Regions from separate parts of the Homo sapiens genome. Here all the other regions are linked to region 3. Evidence: promoter capture Hi-C in human tissues and cell types (Jung and others, 2019). All regions are on one chromosome and are shown on one strand. Each heading gives the region's core, a stretch centred on a gene start or on the middle of the fragment in contact. The rest is flanking DNA. Distances are from core to core; before and after follow the strand shown. Region 1 has its middle 73 kb from the start of ZBTB40. Region 2 overlaps ZBTB40 (zinc finger and BTB domain containing 40). Region 3 holds the start of CDC42 (cell division cycle 42).

What was found. Contacts are between HindIII fragments. The study calls those that stand out against the background at their distance.
Region 1: a contact is called between a fragment that was not itself captured here and the fragment with the promoter of CDC42 in region 3, in 2 of the 25 tissues and cell types used here (IMR-90 fibroblasts and bladder).
Region 2: a contact is called between a fragment that was not itself captured here and the fragment with the promoter of CDC42 in region 3, in 2 of the 25 tissues and cell types used here (heart left ventricle and hippocampus).

What each region holds. Positions count from the first base shown.
Region 1 is chr1:22,377,847-22,380,600 of GRCh38, forward strand. No RefSeq gene overlaps it. Among named protein-coding and RNA genes, the nearest start is that of ZBTB40, 73 kb to the right of the region's middle. The HindIII fragment of the contact is 5,446 bases long and covers 1-2,754 here.
Region 2 is chr1:22,490,535-22,493,310 of GRCh38, forward strand. It overlaps ZBTB40 (zinc finger and BTB domain containing 40), which reads left to right. Exons shown (of 18, transcript NM_014870.4): 2 at 1-111; 3 at 866-999. Among named protein-coding and RNA genes, the nearest start is that of ZBTB40, 40 kb to the left of the region's middle. The HindIII fragment of the contact is 3,271 bases long and covers 1-2,776 here.
Region 3 is chr1:22,051,211-22,053,973 of GRCh38, forward strand. It overlaps CDC42 (cell division cycle 42), which reads left to right and starts at 1,499. Exons shown (of 6, transcript NM_001791.4): 1 at 1,499-1,532. RefSeq lists silencers at 1,588-1,737, 1,798-2,017, 2,028-2,207 and enhancers at 1,920-2,487, 2,488-2,763. The HindIII fragment of the contact is 8,517 bases long and covers 531-2,763 here.

The sequences.
Region 1 (2,754 bases), core at 5-2,504, 330 kb after region 3:
TCAGAGGGCATCCAAATATCTTGGGCAAGTCACTTAACCATTGGAGAGCCTAAGCTTCCTCGTCTATGAAATGGGGATAAGAAGTCTTCTCTTCCAGGGCTATCATGATGGTTAAATGAAGTAATGCACATAAAGCACTTAGCACAGGGCTTGTGCTTGAAAGCCATTTCACAAGCAATAGCACGATTATCGTTCCTGTTATTAGGCTTTCAGGCCCAGCTCATTTCTGCCCCCTCCAGGGAGTTTCCCTTGACCATCTGCACCCCTATCAGCTGCCTTCTTTTGTAGCAGAATTGACCCGTTTGCCAAGCACTTGGACACTGTCTCCTCCAGGAGTCTTGCTCAAACTTTGGGACATCGGAAACCCCAAGGGGAATGTGTTACAAATGCAGACTCCTAGACCCACCTCCTGAGGACCCTTGCCAGAGGCCTGCTGTGGGGCCCAGGAACCTGCATTTTCACCAACTCCCACACCCTGAGATGATTCTGAAGCAAGACCGTACCTGGAGAACACTCATATGTGCATCATCGCATTTTATAGATGGGGAAACTGAGGTTCAGAGGAGAACACAGATTGGCCCAAAGTCACATAGTGATTCACTGGCAGAGTTGGGCTTGCACAAGAATTTGTGCCTTGTGGACCTGGGCTGGTTCCGCCCTGCTGTGGAGGGGCTCCCTCTCTTCAGACTGAAGCTTTCCTACAGCCCCTCAGCATGCCTTTCACCACTGGGTGCTCCAATTCTGGCCTGCCTCTTGCTTCCAGAACATATGTCCACCAGGGCCCTGAACCTAGTTGGTGCTCAACAAATATCTTCCAGATGATGGGCATGACTCAGGCAGGGCCAACATATTTAGCAGATTTTTTGACAGACAGGTTGGGAATGGCATGAATGACCTGGCCATGGGAGTGATGGAATCTCCAAAATGGCACTAGGAAAAAACCGTCATGCCTTGATGGGTCCCAAAATGTATATAGTTTTTCTTGGTTTTTCTTTTCTCTTGACAGAGATGCTGAATAAACCTGCTAGAATGTAAACTCCAGCAAACGGGAGTTGCCTGGACTTTACCCTCCCCCTGCCTGGCATGCTGTAGGTGCTCAATAAGTGTTGCTGAGAGGAAGGATATGAGCTGTGGACTCTGCTTCCCACTCTAAGTAGTTTGTTCTCACTGTAGATGGTCTGATGGTAACAAAAGTGTTATGTCCCCTGGAGGTGTCCCTGCTCCCCTCCCACAACCCCTCCCAACCCCTCCAGCTGTGGAGAAGGCGGAGATGGAGAATCACGAGTTGGTCCCAGTTCCCATTCTTGGGCCATCTTCTGCAGCTCCGTGTATCTATGGGATGGAGTGTGGGTGGGAAGAAGGCTGATGCTGAAATCGCCACTGCACCGCCAGGCCTGCCATCCCCTCTGGCTGCCCGGCCTTCCTCCATTAGCACTTTGGCGCTGCAGCCCTTGGCTGAGCCCAGACTGGATTTGATTGATTCTTTATGGGCTGCAGATTCGATACCCATGCAGAGCACATGTGGAGGATAAGCCAGGGAGGAGGCGGGGGAGAGAGTTGAGGCCAGGGAGAACCTGGGGGGTCAGACCCTAACCTTTGCAAGACATGGGGCTTCCCCAGGCCTGGCCCAGACCAGGACGCCCCTTCCTGCTGCACCCTCATGCCAATGACTCTGGTTTCTAGAATTGCCCTGAAGTTCATTTCCCAGCAATGTCTGATCAAATAGGGATGTCCAAGGGCAGGCTCTTCAGATGGGACAAGCCCGGGCTAAACGTCCTCCCCAAAAAATGCAATGTGAGCATTGTTCATCTGTTATTGATTGGGAGACTGTGAGCTTTGCTTCCAAAATCTCCAATAAAACTGGCTTGGAAGAGAATTTCCTGAATCCCTGGGTAAGTGGATAAAGATGTTCCAGGAGTCTGGGGTGGTGCCGGTGGGGAAGCTCACACACCATGCACAGTTGGTTTTTCCCTTTGTTACTTAATGAAGAACAGAAAACAATCAGCCTCATCTCTCTGCATCCAGAGTCGGCTCCCTTCTTCCTTTGAGTTAATTTCCGGTTGGAGGCTGGTGCCTGCTTAGCCGGAGGGCCCCCGGGAATCTGCTCCTCTTCTCTTTTGGGTTGGGGGCTGGAGGCGGCTCATTCTTCTGGGCATCCCGTGGTAGGGGTCTTGCACCTGCGTGTGGCATTAGGCGGGTAGGGGGTTTTGAGGGAGCACAATAGAGCATTTGGGAGCTGGCTCAGTTGCTGGAGCAGCCTAGGTTACAGAGAGATGCAGCCAGCTCTGAGGTCCTGTCTCAGCCGTGACCAGCCTTGTGACCTTGGGCAAGGGACTTCAATTTCTGGGCCTCAGTTTCTTCATCTGTGAAATGGGCATCATTTCAACCCCTGCTTCAAAGGGTTATGATAAGGACTCGAGGAGGCTATGGATGTAAGGCACTTGTGTGGTGCTGGTGCAGAGCAAGCACTCAATACATGTGGGTTGTTAGTCCTATTCGCTCCTGACATCAGCAGCTGGGACTCCGCTGACTTCATGGTGAGCCCCAGAGACAAGAGAGATGGGATCACCCTTTCCTTGGACTGTTCCTCCCCTTCCTCCACCCCCACCACAGCCCCCTGGGTCACGGCCGGAAGGATGAGGACAGGCTATCTGAGTCAGAGTGTGTGTCATCTGGGAGTGGGGGGTGGGGTGCCCCTCCATGGGAGAAGAGCCTGAGGCAGGCCAGGAGCTAGAGACCTCAGCCCAAGCCAGG
Region 2 (2,776 bases), core at 175-2,674, 440 kb after region 3:
GCCAGAGGAATGCAGAAACCCCAGCGGAGACTCCTACTACAGCTGAAGCTTGTTCCCCCTCCCCTGCTGTGCAAACCTTTAGTGAGGCAAAGAAGACAAGCACAGAACCAGGTAACAGTCATTGTTTTATATTCCATCCTTCTGTTTTCAATGATCTTTATCAGTTTTAATGTTTGATTAATAAATTTATCAAAGACCACTGTTAGGTAGAAAACCAAAATTCAGTGCAGTACCGTACTGGGCCATTCTTTTAAAAGTGTCTGTGTTTTTGAACATTGAAAGTCCAAACATGAACTACAGAGCAGAAAAGCAGTATTGGAATAATGACGTACCATTTCGATAATTATCTGTTTCGTTTTGTTTTGTTTTGTTTTCTCTCGAGACGGAGTCTTGTTCTGTTGCCCAGGCTGAAGTGCAATGGCATGATCTCAGCTCACTGCAACCTCCGCCTCCTGGGTTCAAGCAATTCTCCTGCCTCAGCCTCCTGAGTAGCTGGGATTACAGGCATGTGCCACCACGCCCAGCTAATTTTTTGTATTTTTAGTGGAGATGGGATTTCACCATGTTGGCCAGGCTGGTCTCGAATTCCTGACCTCATGATCCACCCGCCTCAGCCTCCCAAAGTGCTGGGATTACAGGCGTGAGCCACCGTGCCCTGCTGATTATCTGCTATTTTAACCAGGCTGAGGACAGCACAAAGGAGGAAGCTGTGAGAGATACTGTTGTCTGTTATTCATAACTGATGTGCTAGACAGAGATCAGTTAAGTGCAGTATATGACCTGAAGGTGCTCAGACAGCTTAAACTTGTAAAAATTTATTTCAAGTAATGAATTTCTGATTTGTTTTATTTTGTTCTACATTTAGGATGTGAAAGGAAACACTACCAGCTGAATTTTCTTCTAGAAAATGAAGGTGTCTTCTCAGATGCACTCATGGTTACCCAGGATGTTTTAAAAAAACTAGAAATGTGTTCAGAAATTAAAGGTCCACAGAAGGAGGTAGGCACCTCTGACTTTTGTACTTGTTTGCTAGTTTAGTGTTCTCAGGATACCTTACTAACTTTTTATATGGGGCAGAAATAGCCCAGGGTTTCAATGTTTTGAAACTTTAATTTTTTTTTTTTTTTGGACATTTATTCCCTAAAGGGCAGTCTTGCAAAAGTACTTAGGCAGGATACTTTCAAAATGACATTACATCTTGATCACCAGGAGAATCCTAGCTTCTAACCAGTTTTGATCCAGAATACTTAACTGATCATACCATTTACTCCTGATTAATCACAGATAAGATTAAGAAGGTAGCCATGTATAACCTCAAACCTGAGACTTAAACCATTAAAATTAAAACAAAACAACAGATACTCAAAACATGAACAAAAAGGACTTTATATAAACTTATAAATTATTGGTAAAATGCATCTAATATTTAGGAATAACAGTGGCCATTTTCAGACATAAAAACAGTAATAGTAAACATTCAACGAACACTTCCTGTATTAAGCTTGGCATATGTGTTACCGCATTTAATTTTCACAAAAATCATCAGTGTGAGTATTATTGTTAAGTCCTGTTTTATGCATGAGAAAACTGTCTCAAAGAGGTGGTGTAATTTGGCGAAGGTCACAGAGCTCATATGACCCTGAGCCAGAATTGAAACCTCAGCATTCTAACTTTAGAGCTGCTCCCTTACACACTGAGTTTATACTGCCTCCCAACAGGGTAAAAGTGATGCATATATATATAAGTGCTTAGGAATCGCCTGACAGGAAACTGCCAAATGGCTATCATGCTTTCTTAGCTGACCTCTTTTTTTAAGTAACTCAGTTGAGACGCATTTCCACCTGTGTGATCTCTCAATACTTGATTCTTCACACCTGACCCTGCAGGATTCGACTCCACAACCAATTTAGAATTCCATTTATTTCCCTTTTCTCCCAGCCCTGCTTCCCCTTTCTGAGAGGCTGCTGGCAGAGTGAGAGGGCGCTGCCCCGGCAGGCTTGCTCCTCTGATTGGTAGGGGGTAGTGTGGGCCGATCCTCCCATGTTGCTATAGGCAATTTTGTATTAGTCCAAGTAATACATGCCTTCTAATAATTAAATGTTTTCCTGATTCATAGCAACTTTTTTAAAAAACAAATTCAAGGTCTAGTATTTATTTTAGCTGTGTTAACTGACAGTCGACTATACATTGTTTTCTTGGGAGACAAGCTATTTACAAGGCTAGGCTAACCCTGATGACTCTCTTTGGGAGGTTTCAAGTCATAAATCCTTGGTACTCTTTGTACTGATTATGCTGAAGGACATTATGGTTTTATATTTTTGCACTTGCGTGTTCTCTTAACTGTTCAATCCATCATTTTTGTCATTAGTTTGTTACCTTGATAGCTTCTAAACACACCTCTTCATTTTCTCTTAAAGCTTCCTCTCCACTTAACTTTGGCTACAGAGGAGTAACGTTATTCCTTAGATCAGCAATACTCAAGTTATTAGTGTCACCTTTATACTTAGTTGAACTGTGTCTTATGCATTTTTTTTAACATTGGTACCTAAAAGTATGTGGCATGTAACAGGTGATGAAGAAATGTCTGTTATACATGCATTCGTTCAACATTTCTTTTTTTCCATTTCTTGTTCTAATCTTTTGATGGCAATATCATTAATATACTTCAAAAGAACACTGATTTGCTGTTGGTGATCATTATAGGCTTATGTTATTTCTTCCTCAGTTTTAGAGGTCAGAGTAGGAGCTCTGCAAATCACTTGGTGGCTGTTTTTAA
Region 3 (2,763 bases), core at 249-2,748:
TTTTTGTATTTTTAGTAGAGGCGGGGTTTCACCGTGTTAGCCAGGATGGTCTCGATCTCCTGACCTCGTGATCCGCCCGCCTTGGCCTCCCAAAGTGCTGCGATTACAGGCATGAGCCACCGTGCCCGGCCTAGGATAAGCAATTTAAGCGATTTTTCTCTAACATGGGGAAACATCTAAGAATAAGAGAGGGAAGTTCTCTATTTTCCTGAAGCTTTCATACTAGCAGAGAAGACAAATAATAGATACTGCGAAGATAGGATGATTGAAGAATGCAGTGATATAAATTTGGGGGAAGAGGAGGGAGGCAGAGCAAAGAAATTCAAGGCCTTGGCCAGACGTAATGTCTCACACCTTGTAATCCCAGCAGTTTGGGAGGCTGAGGCAGGCTGATAGCTTGTGTCCAGGAGTTCGAGACCAGCCTGGGCAATCCAGCAAAACCCTGTGTCTACAAAAAAATACAAAAATTAGCCAGGCATGGTGGCATGCGCCTGTGGTCCCAGCTACTTGGGAGGCTGAGGTGGGAGAATCGCCGGGACGTCGAGATTGCAGTGAGCTGAGATCGTGCCACTGCACTCCTGCCTGGGTGACAGAGCAAGAACGTCTCAAAGAAAAAACAACAACAACAACAACAACAACAACAACAAAAACACAAGGCCTGTGGTTGGGGGAAGGTTGTAACTCTAAAAAAGACCCATGTGGCTACAGCGAGGGACACTGGGTGTAGGTAGAGATAAGAAGAGTGATACTCAGTTCTCACATCACGGCGGACTGAATACAGGCCCGGGGAGTGAGAGACCATCCACCCCTGTGATCTGGGGCAAGTCACCAGCCCTTTCAGAGAAGCTTCCGTCTTCTCTGCAAAATGGGACAATACCTTGCTTCACAAGCTTGCAAGGATCAAAAGAACTGGTAGTGGGCCGGGCGCGGTGGTTCACGCCCGTAATCCCAGCACTTTGGGAGGTCGAGGCAGGTGGATCACTTACTTGAGGTCACGGGTTCGAGACCAGCCTGGGCAAAATGGTGAAACCCCGTGTCTGCTAAAAATACAAACATTAGCCTGGCGTGGTGGCAGGTGCCAGTGATCCCAGCTACTCGGGAGGCAGAGGCAGGAGGATCGCTTGAACCCAAGGGGTGGAGGTTGCAGTGAGCTGAGATCGCGCGCTGCACTCCAGTCTGGGCAACAGATCAAGACTGTCTCAGAAAAAACAAACAAAAAAGAACTGGTAGAGGAAGCGCTTTGCATACTATCGTTCACAGTATTATTACAAATACAACCATTAGGAAAACATGCAGAGCATAGCCCCGAACTCACGAGCTGCGCCGGCCCGCGCGTGCGCGACAGGCGGGCGGAGCCAGGGCAGTCCAGGCACCGCCTTGACCCGCCCCAGCCTCTTCCCCTTCCCTGTTCCTCCCACTTCCGCGGGCACCCAACTGTGCGTCTCCTGCGCGCTGACGTCAGGTGCGTGCCCCTGTCCGGCAGCCGAGGAGACCCCGCGCAGTGCTGCCAACGCCCCGGTGGAGAAGCTGAGGTGAGTGCGGGGCCCGAGGTTCCCCGCGGGAGCTGCCACCCTACCTTCCCATCCCCGCCGTCTCCGTCCTCTCCCAGTCCTCGGGGACACCCCGTCTGCGGGATCGTGGGGGGCCCGGGAGCACGGGTTGTGGGGGAGTGCCCGGCTCGCGCTGCGTCCTCCGGGCGGGCGCGGGTCCGCGTTCTGTGGGGGAGCCGGGGCGGGGGTCGCGGCCGGGGAGGCAGGGGGCGCCCGTCTGAGGAGGGGCGCGCGGCCGGGGCTCGGGGCGCGAGCGGGACCGGGCTGTCACCGGCAGCGGCGGAAGGAAGGGGGTCACACCCATCCTGGGCGCCCGGGCTCCCCTCCCCCCAGCCCGGCCCGGCGGGCTCCTAAGGGCGGCCGGGGGCCTCAGAGCGACTCGCGGGCGCTTGGGCCGGGCCGGGCGCCGGTCTTCCGTGCTGGCAGGCTGCGTTCCGTGCCCTGCGCTCCGGCCTGGACTTCCTGCTTCGCCGGGCGCCGCCGCGGACATTTTGCGGCGGGGGTGGGGGGGCGGGGGAGGGGAGTGGCGTTGCGGCCGCGGCGGGGCGGTGGCAGGAGGGCAGCTCGCTGGCTGCTCGCGGCGGTGCCTGTCCGAGCTCCCCTCCGCGCCGGCCGCGTCCTCTGGGCGGGGTGGCCCCGAGCCACGGCCTCCAGGCTGCTCTTCCTTTCGGAGGTCGAGTTCCTAGCATTTCCATCCGCTCCTCCAGCCCGCTCCCTGCCGGTTTAGCTGAAGCTTCCCTTTCGGGGAGTTACCTAACTACCTCCCGAAGCCGTCGTTCTGCTGCTTGGTTAATTCCTCTTATCGGGGGGGAATTTTCTTTGTTCGTTTGTTTTTCCTCCCCTTTAAGTCCAAGATAAATGTAGTGTGGAAGATTACGTCATCGCGGTATAAGGAGTGAGACTTAACTCCTACAAGTCAGGGACTTAAATTCAAACAGCATTTTGCAGCCTTAGTCGGTCACCCAGTGGCTTATCCTGCCTGCTTCCCAACACGTCGTATTCACAGATGATGTTTTGAAAGCTTGTTACTTGTGTTCATGACCGCCTTCAGTGCACCTAAAAGCTAGGAAGGTTTAAAATCCCAGGATTAGTTTGTGTCAGGGAATAAAGTGTAAGACAACACCGTCCACGGCCCCTTGCGTGGCATTAACTTTAAATAGAGGTCCCTTTGACTATACTAGAATGAGGTGGGTTTATTTGTGGGAACACTTTT